4 separate regions of the Homo sapiens genome follow, and all the other regions are linked to region 3. The links are contacts of gene promoters, found by promoter capture Hi-C in blood cells and fetal thymus (Javierre and others, 2016). All regions are on one chromosome and are shown on one strand. Each heading gives the region's core, a stretch centred on a gene start or on the middle of the fragment in contact. The rest is flanking DNA. Distances are from core to core; before and after follow the strand shown.

The links. Contacts are between HindIII fragments. The CHiCAGO score rates a contact against its expected background, and 5 or more counts as called.
Region 1: a fragment that was not itself captured here is called in contact with the fragment with the promoter of MICAL3 in region 3 in 5 of 17 cell types (erythroblasts, megakaryocytes, naive CD4 T cells and 2 more); the score reaches 8.2 in erythroblasts.
Region 2: a fragment that was not itself captured here is called in contact with the fragment with the promoter of MICAL3 in region 3 in 13 of 17 cell types (erythroblasts, total B cells, megakaryocytes and 10 more); the score reaches 9.2 in erythroblasts.
Region 4: a fragment that was not itself captured here is called in contact with the fragment with the promoter of MICAL3 in region 3 in 15 of 17 cell types (naive CD8 T cells, naive CD4 T cells, megakaryocytes and 12 more); the score reaches 17.6 in naive CD8 T cells.

What each region holds. Positions count from the first base shown.
Region 1 is chr22:17,780,270-17,785,487 of GRCh38, forward strand. No RefSeq gene overlaps it. Among named protein-coding and RNA genes, the nearest start is that of LINC00528, 5.6 kb to the left of the region's middle. RefSeq lists enhancers at 1-240, 911-1,924, 1,286-1,735, 4,642-5,218, 4,984-5,093. The HindIII fragment of the contact is 752 bases long and covers 3,028-3,779 here.
Region 2 is chr22:17,803,335-17,808,944 of GRCh38, forward strand. It overlaps MICAL3 (microtubule associated monooxygenase, calponin and LIM domain containing 3), which reads right to left. Exons shown (of 32, transcript NM_015241.3): 29 at 5,510-5,603. Among named protein-coding and RNA genes, the nearest start is that of LINC00528, 29 kb to the left of the region's middle. RefSeq lists enhancers at 444-1,643, 638-1,478, 1,479-2,317, 5,339-5,610. The HindIII fragment of the contact is 3,985 bases long and covers 1-3,572 here.
Region 3 is chr22:18,020,580-18,025,991 of GRCh38, forward strand. It overlaps MICAL3 (microtubule associated monooxygenase, calponin and LIM domain containing 3), which reads right to left and starts at 3,982. Exons shown (of 32, transcript NM_015241.3): 1 at 3,702-3,982. It also overlaps the pseudogene RHEBP3. RefSeq lists a silencer at 3,710-4,119. The HindIII fragment of the contact is 4,064 bases long and covers 1,213-5,276 here.
Region 4 is chr22:17,840,557-17,846,488 of GRCh38, forward strand. It overlaps MICAL3 (microtubule associated monooxygenase, calponin and LIM domain containing 3), which reads right to left. Exons shown (of 32, transcript NM_015241.3): 20 at 1,266-1,461. Among named protein-coding and RNA genes, the nearest start is that of LINC00528, 66 kb to the left of the region's middle. The HindIII fragment of the contact is 7,527 bases long and covers 1-5,298 here.

The DNA.
Region 1 (5,218 bases), core at 2,154-4,653, 240 kb before region 3:
GCGTGGGCACGGGGGTCTGGGCAGGCCTCCCAGGGCAGAGGTCAAGAGGAGGGCGGGAGGCCTCTAGCTTGGTGGTTAAGAGCTCAGCCTTCAGAGTTTGTTTTCTCAGCTCTATCCTTGACGAGCTTCGTGAGCTGTAACTGGCCAGGGGCTGCCCCCAGAAAAGCTGGCCTCCAGCTCCCCGCATCCTGAGGCCCCAGATCAAGTTTCTTGGGCCCCAATTTCCTGTCATCAAAGAGATGATAGTACATTCCTCAGAGGCGGGCTGTGAATACATGAAACGCAAGGTCTTAGGCACCCAGCATGCGCTCAGGAAGCGTGGCTTGTGATTACCCGGCAGTGCGGTGGGAGGCTCCTAGCAGCTGTGTGTGCTGTGAGTGGGGTGGCTGGGGTCCCTGTGGGAGGTGCTTCAGAGTGGGGGCTGGATGGCGGCTCCCGAGGGGCATGGGGAGAAAGACAGGAGCAGAGGGGCTGCCACGCACTGCCCTTTTCCCCTTCCACCCCAGTCCCCTTCTCAGTGCACCCTTGGAACTTCACCCCCTCCCTGCCAGCTGCCCCCACCGCCTTCCCCTGTCCTGAAGCCCCTGTCCCTACCATCCGCCCCAGACACTTCCATGCTCTTCTTGAGGGTGGGCTGTCTCCAGGTGCCGCTCATTCCCCGGCCGGGCTGCTGTGCTCTCACTGAAGCTCAGGTGCTCTCAGAAGCAGAAGGAATGAGGGGTGGAGGGGCCAGTGTCCTCCTGGCCTGAGGACAGGGCTGGGGAGGCAGGGGCAGAGGTGGCCTGTCCCCTGCTGGCCAGGGCTGACACGCGGTAATGGCTATTACCAAGTGGGCCATTTCTCCCTCCTGCCCCTCCAGGCATCTCATCCCCCCACACTGCAGGAGGTGAGGTCTGCACAAGGCCTCTGCTCCCCTGGGAATAAGCCCATGCGTTCCATGGTGCCTCCTAAGCCCCTGAACTGGAGCCCACCCCAGTACTGGCGGGGGCCTGATTGCTGGAGTGAAGGCTTCCTCCTTCCTGGCCACCCCATTCCCCTCATCTCTGGGACAGAAACCGACAATAAACGCCTGCCCGAGACCTGGGTTGGAAAAACAGAGTGAACACACACCATCACATGGCAGGAGGCCAGGTGCACAGAGCCCTCCCTGCAGTTAGTTCCCCAGGAACTGGGGCTGCAGGGATGGCCCAGAGCTCTCAGCCAACATCAAAGGGCCACAGCACCGGGGCTGGTGGCTCCTGGCCAAGTCAGCACCGACCACAGAGCTCCCCTCTCTGCCTAGACCCAGGGCTCTGCCCTGACAGCCTAGAGAAGGGCCTGGCTGGTGGTGCCTGGCTGGGTGGCTCCCTGCCTAGGAGGTGCTTTCCCCAAGCGCTGGGCCTTGAAGGGCCGGTGGGTTGTGAGGGCAAGAGTCTTGCTAGAGGAGAGGGGAGAGATGGCGAGATGCAGGACCAGAGCCTGGGGGGGTGAAAATCATGTTCACCCCCATGGTGAAATCACGGCCATGGTGAAGACCAGTCCCACCCACTGAGCGGAGGCAAGTAGACCCCAGGAATTCCCCAGCCCCGCTGCTGGGTGGGTGTGACCCTGCAGAAGCTCTGGGAGGCTGGCATGACTCAGCTGTTGCAGAAAGACCAGTCTGGGGTTTCCCATATTGCTTCAAGCAGCCTTTTCCCTGGGACTGCTCTATCTAATGCCAACAACCCTCAGCTGCTAGTGAGCCCTCGCCACCAACTTTCAGAGGGCTAACTCCTAAGGCCCAAGGGCTGGAAAACTCCAAGCACAGCCCTCCCAGAGTCTGGCTGTGGCTCAGAATGGGTGCTGGGGCAGGGCGAGCAGGATTTCCCAGAGGGAGCTGGGCCCTCTGGCGTCCGCCCCAGGGCTGGCCCAGCCCAGGGACCCCCATGATATCCTTCCTCTCACCCTGCCCTTTCTGAAGTGAACTCTTTGGATATTGGCCAAATCACACCCAGCAGAGGGAAGGGAGTGGAGGTCCCGGTGTGGGGGTCCCGGCGTGGGGTGGCTGTGCCCAGCTGGAATGTTTTGCATGGTGATTTGTTAGAGGGATATTGAGCAGAGGGCAAACCACCACTGTGTCTAGCATTCTGCTCAAAGGTGCAGAAACCAAGACTGCCACGTGCAGAGTGAACGGCCCAGGCTGTGGCCCCCCGGGGAGGGGCTGAGTCTCAGCACTGCAGCCTTATGCTGTGCGCAGTTCAGACCTGCGATAGGCGAGAGGCCAGCAGACACACGCCTCGCCTTACGTGACGTTTCTGCCATCTTCATTCCTGTGTTCGCTTCTGTACCAAATCTCCCCCACACACGATCTGACCCCGTGGCATCCTTCCTTTCCTACAAACTGCACTGAGACCCAGGTGTCATCGTGAAGTTCATGCCAGCCAGAGGAGCCACTGTGGCGTTTCCGGCCATAGGCCTGGGCAGGAGCCGCTCCCAGGCGTGCCGTGGGCAGGGCCGGGTCAGCCTTCAGGGAAGAGATGCCTGTATGGGACCAACTCAGGCAGCCACAGAGGGATGGCCCAGCACCCCACAAAACCCAAAGTGCTCAGCGTCTAGGATCTGTTTACGGGGCAGAGAAGTGGATGTTCTTTTCCTGGTTCAAAGGTAGAAACAGGCTTGGAGAGCCGCACCCGGCATCAGCCAGCCAGGCAGACGCCTGGTCTAGCGCTTGGTTCTCACAGGCATGTGGCCTCCAGTAAAAGATCTTCCTGGAGAGAGGGATGAAGGCTCTTGGGATCATCTTTAGAGGTGCTGATGGAGAAGCGGGGGGGGGGGGCCTTCAGGTGGGTGTGTATCCCTTTATCTAGAATGCTTGGGACCAGAGGTGTTTCAATTTTTCAGATTTTGGAATCTTTGCCGACATGATGCTCAAAGGAAATCCTGCATTAGGGAGTCTTAGCCTGTATCTCCGCTGGCGTGGAGGAAAAGGACAGGAAAGTTTTGAATGGCGGATCCACCCAGGGGACTTCCCTGGATGGGGCGCTGCCACCCCTGGGCCCTGTGTGGGAAAGCTTCAGTACTACACGGTGCCACCGGCTCCCAGCCCCAGCTGAGCTCACCGTCCAGCTCTCAAAGCCAAGGGCAATTCTTTGGCACCTGAAAATGCATCTAAAACTATGACGTTTATAGCTGCCTTAGCCCTACTTAATCTCTATTTCTCTACACCAAATCTCTCTACTGCATGTGCTTACGCCTACGTGCTCTGCTGCCATGGTGCCTTGCCAAGAGCGTGGCTGTGCTTTAGTTCTCCCCGGGGCCTTGGAGGACTCTCCAGGGAGGAGGAAAGGATGGTGCTAGGGGGAGGAGGCTGGGGGTGGACCTTGTTCTGATGCCCCTTGTCTCATGCACGAAGTTCTTCACCCTCCTCCAAACCTTGACCTGGTGGGAGCAGAGACTACCCCCTCCCTGGGGCCAGGGATAGGATGCTCATGCCTGGGAAGGCCAGCAAGCCTTCCCCGCTTACTCAAGGCTCTGCAGGGTTCTGGGGGCCGGTGCTGTCTTTGGTGCCATCCGATTGCTTCTGCTTGTGGGCCTCACCCTAGGGCTGTTCACCAAAGTCCTTCTTATCACAATCCTGGCTTGAAATAAGTGGGTTTCCAATTTTTTATCCCTGATCTTGCCTGGATCTTGATTCTGAGACTCCTCCCATCCCACCCTCTCCAACAGCAGAGACCCCTCCCATTAGCTGCACGCGATTGCTCCGAGATAACAAAGCATTGGCAGATGCTGGTGGAGCAGGCCTGCCCTTGACGTGGGCAAGAAGCTTGGGGAAAAAGACAATTTCCTGCTTGTCTTTTCTTGTCAAAATACATGGCCACACCAGGGGAAGGACAGGAAGAATTCTCTTACCAGCCAGCAGCGGCAACTTAGCAGCTACAGACACAGAGCGCAGGGGACGGGCGGGAATGACTGGCCATGGAGGAGCCGAGAGAGTCGGGACCTGCAGGAGCTGCCTGCTGAGGCGGTCTGGCTGGGCAGGTGGTCCCTGTGCTGGGGCCTCCGGGTGGAAGGCATCCCAGCCCCCCGAGGGAACAAGTTTGGTCCGAGATACATTTTTGAAAGGTATTTAATTCTCTAAAAACATTTTTAAAAGAAGTGAGACCCACTGGGGAAAGGGAGCTGCTGGCTGCCAGGTGCCTCTCTCTCCTTTTCTCCCGAGAAAGACCTGGCAGCCACTCTGCCGGGGAGACAACCGGGGGCTAGAGGGGCAGGCCCTGGGCCGGGCGCAGTGGCTCACGCCTGTAATCCCAGCACTCTGGGAGGCTGAGGTGGGCGGATCACCTGAGGTCGGGAGTTCGAGATCAGCCTGACCAACATGGAGAAACCGCATCTCTACTAAAAATACAAAATTAGCCGGGCATGGTGGCGTGTGCCTGTAATCCCAGCTACTCAGGAGGCTGAGGCAGGAGAATCACTTGAACTTGGGAGGCGGAGGTTGTGGTGAGCCGAGATCGCGCCATTGCACTCCAGCCTGGGCAACAAGAGCAAAACTCTGTCTCAAAAAAAAAAAAAAGAAAAAAGAAAAAAGAAAAGAAAGGCAGGCCCTGGACACTCATGGGGGCTGACCACTGAGAGGCTCCTCTCGCCTGCTGGGCCGGGTGCCTGTGGGTTGAGCAGCCCCTCAACGCTGACACTCCAGCACCCATCTGGACAAATCCCTCATCCTTGACGATGGCCTTGTGAAGACCCAGGGACCCGTGGCCTGTCCCTGGAGCTGCTGCTGGGACACCAGCTCTGACCTGCTGCCTGGGTGGAGGGGTGGCTGGGGCAATGGGGCCGGCTGAACCCTCTGGGAACACGGACTCCACGGGGGCCCAGCAAGTTCGTGAAACAGGGAGGCTGGCCTCGAGCTGCAGGGGGCTGCCTCCCGAGTCCTCCTAGGGTTCTCCCATCAGGAGGCATCTGTGCATCTACACGGGGCCCGACTCCGGAACCTCCAGCCTTCCCACGTGCTCCCCCATCCTAAGTTGGTCAGCAGTCCCAAGTCGGTGGGAGGAATGCGAGGCGCCGGCCGGGTGAGTGCTGTGACCAGGCTGACGTCGGGGGAAGAGACAGGAACACATCCCGCCAGGACACCGAGCTGGTGCTCACCTAACTTGTGCTCCCTGCCGCCCTCTTGTGGGTGGGCAGACACCAGCAGCTTCAGTCAGTCTCGTGTCACACAGCTGCGCGAGGTAGCTCCACACGCACCTACGCGTCT
Region 2 (5,610 bases), core at 330-2,829, 220 kb before region 3:
CCTCGCACTCAGCTCTTCTGGGAGAAACGAGACCACGACCCAGTGAAAATGGTCGGGCTGAGATCTTGGCATGTTTGCTTCTTTGCGTAAGTGTGGCAGGCAGTGAGCTCCCTAGCAGATATGATTCCTACAAGCAGTGAGGGATGAGATTCAGGGCAAAAGCTGTGTTGGAGTGTGTGTATTTAGGGGACCAGGACGCAGATGCAAGGCTGGTGGAGTCGGGTGGGCAAAGTTTTATTATAAAAAATTAAAAACGACCCCAGGCAGCAAAAGCAAGCTCAGATCTTCCTCTGGAGCACATGTGGGCAGCGGGGAGATCAGCACGCTGCTCTGTTTTGAGCTGGAAAAGGGTCTGTGCTTTTGCCATTTGGTTATTGGGTTGATTTCTCCTTGTTTTTGTGAGCAGGGACTGGGAAGCGTGGGTGGAGAAAGGGCGTCAGCGGGGTTAGTGTCAGCACAGGCGCTGCCATACATACCACCCAGATGCAAGTCGATGAGGTCACTGTAATAAGACTCTCCCCAATAGTCTACAACAAGGAATCGGTGAAGAGAGAGTTATTCCATCAGGTAGTCCTCCTGTCCCCCCATACCCAATCAATGATATGATATGGAGCAATCAATGATATGGAGCGCAAGAAACACAGACACAGCGAGGCGGCAGAGGAACGGCTGGAAGGCATGCGTGCCTAAGTGCATCACATACTGCATGTCCACACATGCCGTATCTGCATACTGCGTGGCTGCGGGAGGAGGGCGGTAACTAAAACTCACTGTGGGGAGTCAATGGTCACTATCAACATGATCCCACGTACACCAGGGATCAGCCAGGACAGAGGCTTTGGCTTTGCTGGGAACTCCTGCCCCTGGGACTGAACCTTCTCTAACTAAGAGTTAATAGAGCGGGGCTGCCTGCGTGTCAGTTGCTGATACTGGAAGCCCCAGGCTGAGGGCCTGGAGGCAGGAGGCAAACGTCCTACAGAAGCTCTGAAATCCTTAGGTTTCGTGCAGTCAGTGCTCTCCCAGGAATTCCCACGACCCCACTGCTGACTCTATCAAATGCCTTGCAGACCCACTTTTGCCGAATGGGTTTGAGAGAAAGGGGATCCTGTTTCGAGGCTTAGGCCTCCAAATTCAGTCGGCCTTCTTAACAACAGGAAACGAGCAGAGACTCATGCAGAGTTCTTCCCCCAGGCACTCGGCCGAAGGCTCCTGGAGGTGTGCTGGCCTGGGGCACTCCTAGCCTGGTAGTTCCACAGCTGTCTGGCCAAGAGCGCTATGTAATTTCCACGCCTGAGATGCAGACTGGGCACTGCCGAGAGGCTGGGCTTGAGCAGGCGGTCCTCATCTCCCCAGAATCATAAAGACACACAGAGCACAGCACTCGGCCGCCATGGTGTTGCCCTCTCTCCAAACCCCGCATTCTGAATGCAGATCCTCACAGCCTCCGGTCCCACCTGAGGGCCTCCCCTTGAGAGTGACACAGCAGACACAGTGGTAGAATGCGGTCCTGCCCCAGTTTTTCAATGCATGCTCAAGGCTGAGTCAGTGTTTTTGTAACAAAAAGGCTTCCCAGGTGCCCCAGGACTGGAAATTACCTAAGTTGTGGCCTGGCCCTAGGATCAAAGGTGCTGAAGCTAATCCTTGCAGCCTGGCCATACGTCGTCATACCTTAGACAAACGGAGAACGGGATGGCAGGTCCATGCTAGAGCGCTTCTCTGGAAAGGCAGCTTGGCTAACAAAGTCTGACGCCCTCAGACGGTGATGGAAGCTGGAGACCCCCAAGTGAGATGATGGCAGGTTCCAGCCAGTTTACTACAGTCCCCAGGGAAGGGCAGACTGCCATGATGAGAAGACTCCAGATTATTATCATGCCCAGCTGCCACTGCCTTCTTCAGGGCTCAGCCAGGTGCCACAAGACTAAGAAGAGGAACGGGACGCAGAAGCAGGAGAGAAAGCAGCAGCAGCACGCACACCTGGGCTTCAGAGACGGCATCGGCCAAGGAGGGGCAGGGCCACGGGGAACTGTGATGGGAGACCAGCTTGGAAGGGATGTATTCACGTAAGAGAAGGAACATATTTGGAAATTCTTATATTCTTATGGTAGGAACCATAATTCCTGAAAATTCCAGAGAGTTTCTCAAATGCATCACAACGAAATATCCCAACAGAGCTACTAAGGCCCATCTTGAAAAACAGAACAGAAACATCTTTGGATAGAGATATCTGCTGAAGACTCATCTAAAGGAAGGAGTTTGCACTACGACAGTGGTTTTCAAGCCTCTGTGGAACCCTAAGGTTCTTCCAAAGGCATTCCAAGGGGTCTCCCAAATACCTGATGTACAAATACTTGTAGCTCTTTCAAGAGCCCTTATTAAAATAAGACACACCACCTTCAAATGTTTTTGTTTTTGAGACAGAGTTTCGCTCTTGTTGCCCAGGTTGGACTGCAATGGCGTGATCTCGGCTCACCGCAACCTCCACCTCCCAGGTTCAAGCGATTCTCCTGCCTCAGCCTCCCGAGTAGCTGGGATTACAGGCATGTACCACCATGCCAGGCTAATTTTTTGTATTTTTAGTAGAGACAGGGTTTCTCCATGTTGGTCAGGCTGGTCTCAAACTCCCGGCCTCAGGTGATCCGCCCACCTCGGCCTCCCAAAGTGTTGGGATTACAGGCGTGAGCCACCGCGCCCGGCCCAAATGTTTTATATGCCAACTTTTCACCCACTGGAGACCATCAACCCAATAATTTGTGCTGCCAGGTGAGCTTGATTTTGTGGAGCCCTCAGGATCAAGTTTCCGCCTCTCTCTGTGTGTAAGTGGCTGAACTCCCTGTAAATGTGTTAGTGAAGAGGACATTTTATTCATTTGTTTATTTAAATTCTGGCCTGCAGCATAGTGCTCACCTGCCACCGTTCAGGGTCTGTCCGGGAGAGCTACAGCTCACTGACAGCACGCACGCCTGTCAGCGAGTCCCTTTATGTAGGTGGGTAACACGTTTTGCTGCGGTATTACAGCATGGCTGGGTTTTTGTTTACTTTGTTTGGGAGCCTCTTGTTTGAGACTTGCTTGTCATGAGGAATAGGAACTGCTGTTAGATTTGCTGTGATCCAACTGTGGAAAAAAAAAAAAAAAAGCTCTTGCCTCATTTTAAACTTCTAGTGTCTACATCATTTAAACTGCAGAAATCCTGAGATTTCCAAGTAAGCTGTTAAAAAAACCAAAAACCAACCAAATAAAAAAAACCATGTTGTCACTTATAGCAACTACAGTTCTTGTGTGTACTGGCTGGATGCCGGGGCTTGGTCATGTCCACCACTCTCTGCTATAACCTGTGTTTTCAAATCTGTGTTAATTATTAACATTTGAGAGTAATTCTTTTTGATTTTAAACTTGAACTTATCATCTTGTGAAAAGAGGTCTGCTGCTAGTTTTTTGAAAACCACTGACTTAGACGGCATTTGGGTTGTGTATGTTTGAGGAAATGTGATTATCTAATGACTAGAAGAAATAATTCTGGCAAAACCCTAACGCCAATCTTCAGTGGTATATTATTTTCCGGCCCTTTGGCAGAAGCTTGAATAACAGGGCCCGTGACAGGGGCGTCGAAGCACTGTTTTACACTCAGACTTCACGGAGGCCACAGGCGCTCAAGTGCTTTACGGAAACCACCAACCTTGATGGCACCACCACCTCAACCTCATGAGTAAGGAGGGCAGGGAGCTGTCTTCTTCCTGAAGGGCTTAAACCATGAAATGCGGTTATTCTGTCTGTGTGTTGAGATCTAATCCACTGCTTTCCATCTTGGCAGAAGTGATTTGTGGAGAAGGGCAAGAAGGAATGAAGATGAGCCTAGGCTCTCTCCTGATATCTTCTGCAAGAAGAGAAATGGCACGAGGGCAGGGCCCCATAGGCCCGGACGCAGTCGGGCACAGGTGGGCTGGGGCCAACTCCATCTGGGCTCAGGCTTAACTGAGGAGGCCAAATCAGAGTGCGCAGAGCAGGGCAGGGGGGCAGGGGCACCGCAGGTTCGCTGGGAAACCTCAGACCTTCTTAGGTGAACCCAAATCTCCTTGCTGTGCTTGTCTCACAGTAACACATCCCAGTCGTCTCAGCCTATCGGATGCTAAGTGCTTCAAGTTTTTGCATTTCCTTTGGTAGCCTGGACTTCATGCATTAACAGCATCAGGTGAGCCCAAACCAAGAACATCCACATCCTCACCTTTCTCCCCATCCCATCTCTTTGACTGAAGGTCATCACTGAGTAGCCCTATAAGCTGCAATTTCCAGGCCTTAAAGGGCCTGGGAAAGGAGACCTACTTCCATTCTGGACTCCCTCACTCCCCACCACACAAACTTCAGTCCTACAGGCCACAGGAATTCATCTTGACACCAGGCACTTCCCATGAGCCCATGGGTCAGTCTTTGAGCAAGATCAGATGGCAGCAGCTGGCCCTGCTCCTGGCCGCCTCCTCCCAGTTCGTCCATTTCACAGAGAGCCTGCCTGTCAGCAGAGGCACCCTGCTCCCCTCTGCCACACTAGAGTGAGGAAGTAAGAGGATACTCCTTTTCTTCATCCCCAGCTCACAATTTAAACGCTGAACCTGCAGGCTATAAAGAGACGGAAGTTCCCCCATCCAGAGACTAGACGAAGATTTGTGGATGTTTGAGAAGGCAGAGTGGCCACTGCACCCCCGGGGCTGGTCCTGCAGCTTCAAGGTCCTGAACCAATAGGACTTCCTGGGCCGTGGGGCCAGAGATGCCTCAGGCACTCCCTTGCATTCTCTGTGCCCAACTATGCTGAGCGCAGCCGCGCAGGTTCCCTGGATGGAATGGCAGGAATGAGCGCACCACATTCTCCAGGGCTTCCCTGCCAGGAGCAGCAGTCACGAGCACAGGGCCCTGCCAGCCACTCCCCGGAGTCTGCTCCACGTCGGCTGGTCACATACCCTGAGCCTCTCCAGCCCTGCCCTAAGTGACCAGCCTTCAGCAGACACAGGGCCTGGGTGCCCTCTGGAAATCTGTGTGTGCCGAGGGTGGCCACATGCTCCCCGACCAGCGGTGTTGAGGGCTCTGTGGGCAGGAGGGTCCCAGGGAACTAACGACATGAGGGGGTCTGGGGGTGCAGGCTGGGGACCTGCTCAGTGCAATTCTGTGATGGTTCCTTGCGGTTCAATCTCCCTCACTCCCAGTTATTCCCTCCTAGAGTAAATGGTGGGGTGGGAAGGAGGGGGAAGAGCCAGCGCTCGCCATCAGCATGCCGGGGACTGAGTTTCACTCTATGGGAAATGGCAGCCCAGAGGGGCTGTGGAGCAGGATGGGCCTGGGGCTGTCTCAGACAGGTATTTTCTTTTGCTTAACAGGAAGCCCCAAATCTCAGAGATGAAGGGCCCCAGAAAATCCTGCTGGAAAAGGAGCTGAATTCCAGGTGAGGTGAAGCAAAACTAGCCTACCACGGCGGGAGGGAGGGCTTCCTCCAGGAGCAGAGCTTAGGAGGGAGCCCGGCAGTACCTGCTTCGCCCCGGAGCGCCTTCTCCACAGCCACGCCCCTTTCCTCCAGCCGCCGCTGCCTCTCCTCCACCTGCTGCAGCTGCCGCTGGATGATCTATGAC
Region 3 (5,412 bases), core at 2,732-5,231:
TTTCAAATAAAATGGCTGTAAACCTTTAAAAAGTAAAAAAAAAAAAAAAAAAATAGGCTGGGTGCAGTGGCTCACACCTGTAATCCCAGCACTTTGGGAGGCTGAGGCAGGCAGATCACTTGAGGCAGGAGTTCGACACCAGCCTGGCCAACATGGTAACCCCATCTCTATTAAAAATACAAAAATTAGCCGGGTATGGTGGTGGGCACCTGTGGTCCCAGCTACTTGGGAGGCTGAGGCACAAGAATCACTTGAACCTGGGAAGCGGAGGCTGCAGTGAGCCAAGATCTCATCACTGAACTCCAGCCTGGGTGACAGGGTGAGACCCTGTCTCAAATAAATAAATAAATAAATAAATAAATAAATAAATAAATAAATAAATAAATAAAATGGCCCACCAAGTTGATTTCATGACTCACTGATGAGTCACAATCCACAGTTTAAAAAAGTGTGAAAAGGGAATTTATTAAAGCCACACAATGTCTCCACTAGTCCCACTCTGAGTTTAGGTAGCACCCTAAAGATGAACTGATATACATGGGTTAAGCTGGATCAACTGGACATTTTCCCCCAGTGGCCTGTGCCATAAATTGCCCTTTTCAGAGAATAGATATTGGTGGTCGTGGCAGGGAGGGGTAATAGAAATGAGATATGGTTTTGGTATTCCTGGATTAGCCATCTACTGGGCTGGCAGCCCTCACATGGCTGGCCTGCCCTGTCTCGTGAGATGGATCAGCCTTGAGGTGACCTGTCAGGAAAGGACATTTGGGCTGGAAGTAGCAGAAGCCTCTGTGAGCCATCCTTCATGCAGAACTAGTCAGGAGCAGCTCCCGCTCAGCCAAGAGAGTGAAGCATGCCCATCGCCCAGCTCAGCCAGGTAAGTACTAGGGAAACCTGTGGGAGGCCCAGGTGAAATGAAGGCATTGTCTCAAGAGGTCAGGCTGACTCCAGGAAGGAACAAAATGATGCATGCATGGCTATGCACAGACTAGAAAAGCAAAGACTAAAGGGAAGGATGGAAGTTGTTCTAACTGTTTTGGGTTGCTTGGAGGGAGTGGGGCATGGGAGAGGGAGGGAGTGTGTAGTCAGTGCGTGGGAATGCAGAAAGGAGCATGCAGAGACAAGCAATCTGGTAGGCCATGTGGGAGACTGTGGCCATTCTATGGTAGGGAGACCCTTCCTGGCCACTCCCTCAGTGGCCCTGGCACATTAAGCTTTGTTGTCCACATTGGGTGGGTTGTGTATGCTTTAAACAACATCTTAATCCCCTTGCCTATTTATGAGGTGTATGACTGAGCCGTGCCCAAGAGTTTCAGAAGATATGGTACCATCATTTATACCTATCTCGCAGGAGATCTTAACCCCTTCTCTACTTAACCCAAATGAAAGCGAGGTCATTAGGAAGCTGTGCCTGGTGAAGTTCTGGCACCAGGTGGGTAGATCACATTTTCTAGTTTATGTAAAATTTTAACATTTCAGACCCCCAGTTTTAAGACCTTATCTAATTTCCTTGAGCCCCTTAGTCATTGTGAACTCGCTGTGGAGTGTCTGCCTCCACCTGCCTTGGTGTTTATGAACATTCATGGTAACTTTAGAAGGCAAGGGTTAGAGGAAACTTTTTGCCGCCCACCCCCAGTCTGCAACAGTACCTGTGGGGAAGATTTTACCCTGGGACTCCAATTTTCAGGGAGAGGAAGTTTCTAGGATTTCCCATAGGCTTACGAGGGACTCGCCATGTGGAAGGATTTTAGGCCTGAGAAGGATAATAACACTTTATAATTTCTAGGTGATCTTATTTGTTGCCTCTTCCTTCTCCAGAGTGACTACTGCATTCCGACCTGCACCCCCACCCTTTTTTTTTTCTTTTGAGACAGAGTCTTACTCTGTCACCCAGGCTGGAGTGCAGTGGTGTGATCTTGGCTCACTGCAACCTCCACCTCCCTGGCTCAAGCTATTCTCATGCCTCAGCCTCCCGAGTAGCTGGGACTACAGGCATGCACCACCACACCTGGTTAATTTTTGTATTTTTAGTAGAGACTGAGTTTCACTATGTTGGCCAGGCTGGTCTCCAACTCCTGGCCCCAAGTGATCTGCCTACCTCGGGCTCCCAAAGTGCTGGGATTACAGGCCTGAGCCTCTGCGCCCAGCCCCCTCTTCTGCTTTCTAAGTGTCCATTCTCCTTGTAGTGAGTGGGTGGTGGGGGGATATACACATGTGACTCTGGTTAGTACATAGGCAGCCATGAAGTCCACAAATGTACAGGGAGCCACAGCTTTCATGCTACAGACTTGCAAAGGTATGCATCTGCTTTCCCCTTGCCCTGGAATATAGATCAGAACACTTCATTTAGTGAAGGGACCTGTTCCGAGAGTGATGATCCCTCCCTCGTTTGAGACACTGCCTTCATCCTGAGCTTCTTGGAGCAGCCCAAGGCCCTGCCAGCTCTCTTTGCCTGTAGCTTGTAGGCATTTATGACAGTTGCATACCCTGCCCTCCAACGGCAGCCTGAGAGACTGAACTATTACCAAGTTCACCTGGAAAAATGTCACCCTGATTGATTAGAATGGTGGGTGGCCATCTTAGCTCATTAGAATCACCTGGGAAGTTAAAAAAAAAAAATCCAGTATGCACTCCAAATTTTCCCACCACCACTCCTCCCCACAAAAAGAAAATTTAAAAAATCCCAGTGTTTGGGCCATATCCCAGACCAATTAAGTCAGAATCTCCAGGGATTGGACCCAGGTAGCAGGATTTCTAAAAATCTCCCCAGCAGCCAGGCCTGAGAGCTAATGAATAGCACCACAGGGCCCAGCCTTTCAGCCTACAGCTTGTCTCGGTTTCACCCTTTTTTCATTTCTTTACAATGAAAATTCTAAATAGTTGATCACAGTGCCAGACCAATAAGAAAGCATTTTAGGGAGGAGAGAGGAGGGAAGGGGTTGGCAGGCACGGAGAGGACTTGACACACAGAAAGCATTTTGCTATGGAGTCATAACCATTTGATTCTAAGACACATGCAGCCTCCAGAAGTCATGCGGCCCCGCCCTCTGCTTCCAGGAGGGAATGAACTTGGCCGTCCTTTTGTTGCACACGCCCGGGAGCTGCGCCGGCGCAGCGCGCCCTGCAGCCTGGGAGCGCAAGCGTGTGCGCCACTGGTCCTGGGCCACCACCGCGCGCCGCGGGCGGGTGCAGGGCCCCTCTGCCGCAGGGAAACCGGCGTTCCCCGCGCAAAGCAGCCGCTGCTCCTAATGAGCTCATGGGTTCACCGCGCTGAGCTAGCCAGAGCGGACCCGGCTTCGCCAAGGGCCTGCTGGCTGTCCTGACACCTGGCCTACCTCGGGGGTGCCTGGGTACGCTCTTCCTTTGCCTGCGGGATAGAAGCACAATGAAAATGGGGTGGACGTGGCTGGGAGACAGCCCTGCTCTCTGGCAGGCTCTGGGGAGTGTGTGGTACGTGGCATCCGCACTGGTGGGTGTCGTGCGATGATCGAGACACGGATACTGGGTGTCTTTCCCACTAGGGGAGAGAGGGCTGCGTTTAGAGGGAAACGAAATAGATCCGAGAAACACAAAGATGTCACAAAGGAAACGCTTCCCCACCATAAGCAATCTAAATAAATGATTCTTAGAAGACATCCAGCAAAACACATAACCTTGTCATTTAGATTCGCTCGCCCACAGGGGGACTGGAGGGTACTCACCGACTAGGGCTTCACAGCCGCATCACCGCCGGCGGTGGGCGCCTGCCTCGGCAGGGGCAGGGTGGGTGCCCGCAGGGCACAGGTGCCGCCGTGGCTGCTCGCACAACCCCTGCAGCTGCGATCCCGCCCAGTTAGCCTCGGGGGCTGCACAGCCCAGCCCCCTCGCCCAGGGCCCAGGGGTTCTCAGGCCGCGCGGCGAGGACGGAGGGCTGCCCCGGGTGCCTGCCTACGCGGGCGCTCCCCGCCGGGACTCCGCCGGGGCTGCAGGAGCGCGCGCTGCTGGCTGGGCGGGCTGCGGCTCCGCGCGAGCGCCGTGGCAACGCGAGCGGGCGCCCCCAGGAGGCCGCGGAGCTGCGGCGTGGGACGCTTGGGTGAGGCTCAAGCCAAAACCAAACCCAAACCATTTCTCCTCCTCCCCATCTTTTCATTTTCTCCCCTTCTTTTCATTTTCTCCCCTTCTCCAACCCCTTCCTCGACACACGTTACTAGCACCTCGAAGGTTGGAAATTCCAGCACTCTCCTGAGGCCTCTTCCCCAGCGAATCCTGCTAACCACGCAGTCGGTGTTCGCTGTGTGTTCGAGCACACACCTCCTTGCAGTGGCTTCAGCACCCAGGTCTCCGGGAGCCAGTGAAGGAACCAAGTGTTGGATACTGAGCAAGTCGCGTAACATCTGAGTAGTCGTGAAATTGAAATTTCAACGGTATAAAGGACACGACGTTGTCTTACAGATTGAAAAATGCTATAAAATGAAGTTCTTACTGTTACTATGATGATGACCCTGGAGATCAGCGCAGAGCCCTGGGGGAGGGCTACAGTTGCAAGCGCTCCAAGGATCAGATCGCGCACTCCTCCCCACCGGAGAAAACCTCTTGATGCCGGAGCCCGGGCAGCCTCTTCCACACTTCCAGCCAGCCCCTTCCACACTTCCAGCCAGCCCCGGCATTGCCACAGCCCGTGGAGCTGGACAGAAATCCACCAGGCACTAAAATAAGTTAGATGGAAGACGGGATGGATTTGACCAAATTCCTATCAGCATCTGCTCAGTATAATTGCAACATTATAATCAGAGCAGAAAGAAGCCCAGAGATTATTTTGTCTTCAAGGATCATTGGCCTCAGTATTATCTCCATCTGAAGCTGTGTTGTCCAAAGCAGATTGACTCCAGCCGGCCAGCTCAGAAGAGGGCCGACTCTGGGCTGGCGACTCCTTGAGAAGGGCTCTCTCTGGTCCCAGGTGGTATTTACTTAACCGTATCATCATCTGCTTCATTCGTGTTCCCTTCATGTCCATCATGTGAGGACGGGAACTGACAGGGCCAGGGTGTCGGCTCAGAGGCAATCTCTGCTCATCCTCTAGAGCCCCACTTCATCACCCAGCCACTCTGTCCACTGTCTCCCCACCTACAAACCTGCAGGTGTTCTGCCCCAGTACTAGAATAAGGGAACACATTTTTACTGAGCTCTGACAATGTGACTGGGCTTTTCAGGAGCTATTTCATTTAATTTTTAATGTAAAACATTGTTTTACATATTAAGAACCTAAAAGCACAAACAGTAAGTAACTTGCTTGTGGAAGCTTATGCAGCGAGATAAGTGGTAAAGCTGCAATTCCCAGTTTTGTTTGATGCCACAGCTGAAGGTGCAAGGCCATCTGGGCACGGCCTGAGTGGATATTAGGGAAAAATGCCCTAAAAGGTCCAGAATCTCTAA
Region 4 (5,932 bases), core at 285-2,784, 180 kb before region 3:
ATGAACTTGCTGCCCCACTGCCTCTCACAATTTATAAATTACAGTGGAGAAAATGGTGCTGACCCACACTCAGCCCAAGGTCAAGCCAGTAGCTCTGCTCAAGGGTTTATAAATGTGTTTTGACACACAGCATCTCTCACCCTCACTGCAGGGTCAGTGGAGAGAGAGAGTGGGCTCCCCCTCATCTGGGCACAGTGGGGAGAGTGGGGCCTCCATGGGTGCTCTGGATAGGGAAGCAGAGTTCTGGATGAGGATGCACCATCAGTGACAGCTTTGGAACTGCAGACACCAAGGCAGAGGCTGCCCCCGGCATGCACGGAGGAGCGGTCTGTGAGGCAGCCCAAGAATGAATCTAGGCAGAGGGTGTCTGACATGAGGGCTGAGGTGGCGGGTGCAGCTGAAAGCAGCTCGGCCCAGCAAACACCTTCTGGAAAGCGTTCTTGGACCTTAAAAAAACTGCTCTGCTCTCCTTATCCCCACATGTTCCCTTCATCATGGCTAAATCAAGGTGTGTGATTCAAATGCTCTCCAAGGCCACTTGAGGCCTCTGCCCCTCGGGTTTGCAGCCTGTGTTTCTGTCCTGAAGCCCCACAGGACACCGGACCCCCTTTTGATTCTTGGCTCTCTTGATCATCTGTAATCGGCTGAACACTTTGAAGCCTTCGCTGATACTGGAAGCCCTGGGGTGCAGGGCAGTGGATATAGGGAGTCCTAGGGTTATAGCATGCACATCCCCAAAGGTGTCACCCAGCTGGATGTGATTACAGCTCTGGAACTGCCTAAGCATGCATCCACTGGTGCTGCATGCGGCCCCTGGGGCACACATTTTCAGTCCCTTTCTTTACCTACAGGAGAAAAAAAGATGCCTGGGGGACGGACTAGGCCTCCCTCAAGACGGCCCGGTGCACTGGTGGCTGAATCACCCAGAGTCCCTCCCCGTGTGCCCGTCCTTCCCTCTGCTGAATCTGTGAATAACCCGGGGGCAGAGCCTGCCACTTTCCTTCCCAATGACAGACTTGGAGCTGGGGACATGTCAGGTCCTCAAGGAATAAATACTTCCTGAATCTCTGAATTGAGTCTGATGGAGGAGTCCTCACTGACTAGAAGATGAGGCTAAGAACCTAAAAGGGACTGGGGAGAATGGACTGCGGGCAGCAGGAAAGACAGGAGGCCTCCCTTCACTGAGAAGAAACCGAGACACACAGAGGTGAGGAGGCTCTTAGGGCCGTGTGGCGGGTGGGCGCCCTGCAGCCCTGCGTGCTGACCTGCTGGCGACGTCCTCCTCGGCGCCCGTGTCCAGCACGCTGCTCAGGTTGTGCTCGGCCTGAGTCTCCTCCGGTACCTCCTGCAGTGCCTCAGCCTGCCTCAGGGACAGGCGGTAGTTCTCCAGCTCGATCCGCTCTGGGGTGCCCCTCAGTCGCTTGGCGATGCTGGGCTCCTCCAGGCCGTTCACGCCTGAACCTGCGGGACAAGCACAGAAGCACTGCACTGAGGTCCAACCACAGACGGGGCGTGGGGGTGGGGGCTGACACCCAGGCTGCAGGCCCTCCTGCCAGAATGTGGGGCAGGACAAAGGTCAGAGCATTTGCAGAGTTGCCAGAGGCCAGAGAAGGACCCTGGCATGTGAGAGGGAATTTCACTCTGCAGGAGAAAGGAAGGTGGCCCTGTCTGCCCTCCAGGTCAGAGCGTTCTCTCTCCTTCATCACCCTGAACCCGGCCCCCAGAGGGGAGACGCAGTCTCCCCACAAGAGTGACTGGTGGTGAGGGGTGTGGGCCAGACCGCAGGCAGCCAGGAGCCAGGTGCCCCTGAAGCAGCCTTGCCTGAGAAGGGCATCCCCGGTGCAGTCTGCCCCAGGGATCCAGGCCCCCACCAGGTGCCTCCCCCAATGCCTGCCCCGGGATCCAAGTCCCCACCAGGCACGTGCCCCACCACTGAGGGGGCCTGGCCAGCTGCCTGAAGAACGTCTCATGCTGCGGATCTGTCTCCTCACAGTTAGATAAGGCACTTTCGGTTTCATAAGGCCACGTGGGCGATGCTGCCCCTACCGCAGCACCGCTGCTCAGAGGAAGGACACCAGGCCCGACCGCTCACAGAGGTGGCACCCAGGCCTCTCTGCGATGCACAGGCACACTTCCCCATCAGTCCTCCGTGGGCTTCTGAAGCCACGGGGTGCCCTGCCTGCGTCCTTTCACCCTGTGGTTTCAGCATCGTCGGCGATCTTGGCCGGAGTCCTTTGTGTGCACAGGGCGTCACACCAGGTGATTTTAAAATCCCATCACTCTGGCTGGGTGCGGTGGCTCACGCCTGTAATCCCAGCACTTGGGGAGGCCGATGCAGGTGGATCACGAGGTCAGCAGATCAAGGCCATCCTGGCTAACACAGTGAGACCCCATCTCTACTAAAAATACAAAAAATTAACCAGGCACGGTGGCGGGCGCCTGTAGTCCCAGCTACTCGGGAGGCTGAAGCAGGAGAATGGTGTGAACCTGGGAGGCGGAGCTTGCAGTGAACCGAGATTGCGCCACTGCACTCCAGCCTGGGTGACAAAGCGAGACTTCATCTCAAAAAAAAAAAAAAAAAAAAAAATCCCATCACTCCTCCTCCACTACCATTCTTTGGTAAAGAAGCACTTTTCCCATTTTTAACTTTATACTTTCAAGTACTGCTATGGACTCGGATTTTTGAAAATGTGTTTTACAACTGTGCTTTGGTCTCCTTTAACATGGAACAGTTCTGCTGCCTCCCTTATCATCACCACTATTCTCTGTTGACGTCCCTTGTCCTCCTGATCCTGGTCAGAGGAGGCTGTCATGAGTCCTCTGGTGTGTCCCCTGTAATGTGAGTAGCACCGGGTCCAGGTGGAGGCGGGCAACCCCAGGTCAGATTTCCTCATCTTCCAGATGCCTGGCTCCACCAGTAGTTGGCTGAAGGGTCTTAGAAAATTTACAGAACTCCTCAGAGCTCGTTTCCTGATAGATAAATGATGGCACCACCCACCTCCCAGAGCCGTCATGGACACCGAGTGACACGATGCACACATACTCATGTGGGGGTGCGTGTTGACCCTGCACCCCACACACACGGTCACCTTCCTCTTCCACTTAACGCCTGCCACCTGGGGAGTGCCCAGGAAACATGAGTGAAGCAGCAAGTCTGGTGTCCAGTAATATTTCCCCACCACTGTGTGCATACTCCTGGAAAGCTGCATCCACAGGCTCTGGAGAGCGAACAGTCGTTACTGAGAAACAGGGCTGAGGCACAGTGCCATGTGGTAGCAGCCTGGTGTTACCAGACATTTTTTTTTTTTGAGACGGAGTCTCGCTCTGTCGCCCAGGCTGGAGTGCAGTGGCACGATCTCTGCTCACTGCAACCTCCGCCTCCCAGGTTCACGCCATTCTCCTGCCTCAGCCTCCCGAGTAGCTGGGACTACGGGCGCCTGCCACAGCACCCGGCTAGTTTTTTTGTATTTTTAGTAGAGACGGGTTTCACCATGTTAGCCAGGATGGTCTCAATCTCCTGACCTCGTGATCCGCCCGCCTCGGCCTCCCAAAGTGCTGGGATTACAAGCGGGAGCCACCATGCCCGGCTGTGTTACCAGACCTTCAAGGAGGCAGAGAAGGGGCAGAGGTGCTGGAGGGAGCAGGTCATGACTGGGCTGGCATCCTGGCTGGGCAGGTCACCGATTCCTGCAACATTCTAAGCTCTAGGAGACAACGCTGGGTTTTGGCATGCCACATCATACAAGCCAGTGTTGAGAGACAGGTGGTCCATCAGGCAAAACCTGGCTAAAGGAAAGCGGCAGGTGATTCAGCAATTTTTGTAGCACGACAGGTTGTGCACAAAGTGTTTTCTGAAGGCCTGCACTTCTGTTGTGTGCAGTGTTTGAACGTCTTTGTGGCAGCCTCAGACAGAGCTTTTAATGAACCCTGGTAGTCACAGGATAAGGTCTTGGCACATCTGTTGGAATTACTGGCATCCTCCACCAAATAGCATCTTTCGAATTCACTAGAGAATCTTTACTAACAAAGCAAGATCCAGTGGCGTATTCACATACAAATTCAGGTAATGGTGTGATGAAGGGGCAAAACACGAATACTTGAGTTCACTTGTGCCCTGTACACGTGCCCACTTGTTTTAGCCTTTGCATCCTTGCTGGGGGACCTTTTTAAACATCATGCTCCATTCTTCAACACCGAGCTCAGGGCACAAAAAGAATATGCTATGATGCTGGGCTAGGGCATCTTGAAGATGAGGAAATGTGGACTAGAGGTAATGGCAGAAAAGAGGCAGAGGGCAATCCTGATAGATCCGGCCTCAAGTTTCTCCAAACCTGCCCTCCCAGGCCTGGGACAGCAAAGGCCCTAACTGCACTAGCTCATCATTCCCAAATACCAGTCTTCCCATCCCTTCCTTCTCCTCATCAAAATCCATGGCGGCCACCCCATAATGAACAGGGGAGGGCTGAGGATACACTGTCTGTGGCGCCATTTGATTCTTTCCATCATTTATTTTTGACAACTGCCATTCAATGGAAAGCAGATGAGAAAGGGAGATAAAGTCAAGCAACTACCCAAGAATCAGCTTTCTGGGAATTCCATAAATACGGAACAAAAAGTGGTATTTCTTTTAGATGGGAGAAGAAAAACAGGATAAGAACTATCACTTCAGGGAAACAAACAACTAACAGCCATCAATTCAGAGGGAAGTGATTTTACAGTAGAGTGAACGAAACTTGGGAAGGAAAACATCCAAGAGGCGTCTGTTTGACGTGGGTAACGTGGGGAACGCATACTGTCTGGCAAGAATTCTACTAGGACCACGGGAAACAAAGCAGATTAAAACACTCTCTACTCTAAAAGAGCTTCAGTAGCACCTGGGAGAGGGCCCTGCAGGAATCCTTTCGGTACGACGTGTCAAGTACCATGAGCCACGTATGCACTCATGGGAGAACATAGAGAGAGTGAGTCAGCACACCTGGCAGAGTCAAGAAAGGTGTTCTGGAGGCATATGGAGTTAGCCGGCTGCAAAAAAAAAACATTCTGTGAGGTAGGCACTATCATTTGCAAATGAAGTAACTGAAGTTCAGGTCACACAGCTAGTGAGCCCTGGAGCCAAGATCTGAACATGAGGAGGAAAGGCATCACTCAGGAGATCACCATGCTGTCCCAAGACTTACAACAAGAAGAAAAACCAGGCACATGTTCGCAACAGCCCTATCTGCCTTCCCCTTTGGGCATCTTCACCATTGTCTCCTCCCCACTGTAATTTTCTAGGTGAGGGACACAGCACTTCATGAAAGCTTCTTGGAGCAGAGAATCTGGCATCTGGAATGACAGACACTCAGTCTTCCCACTGTTATTGCCCTGGAGATTCTGCAAATCCCGCAGACTAATGGGTTGTCAGGCAACAGAACTTGGCAGTCCAAGCCCAGGGCCAGAGCTCTGGAAGGGGAAATGCTGATTTAATTTTGGGCTTGGCTACAACCAACAAAAAAGAAACCAGAAGCACTGGGAACTGTTCAGATCCTTCACACGCCAGTCCCTGGAGAAAGCCTGCAGAAATGCTGTGCTGGGGACGGTGGAAAAGGGGAGCTGGGAGGCAGCAGTTGCCTCTCCTGTGCCAGACCCACCAGGCCATTGAGCCAGGTCCACACAGAGCTCCAGCTCACCCTGTGGAGAGACAAGGACACGGAAGCACACTGGCAGGCCATTGCCGGGGGTTCAGTGTTTCCAAAGGGAAGGTGGTACTCAGAGGACACTGGGCAAGGACCCCAAACTCACCAACTGCCAAAATATGCTCCACATTCCCAGCCCTTCACCTCAAAATACCATGGGAAATTAAAAAAAAAACCACACGCACAAACACATCGGAACAATCAGCATCCTTGATTCTCTGTCCTGAGCAAGGGGCTTTCTGTCAGATGAATCAGGC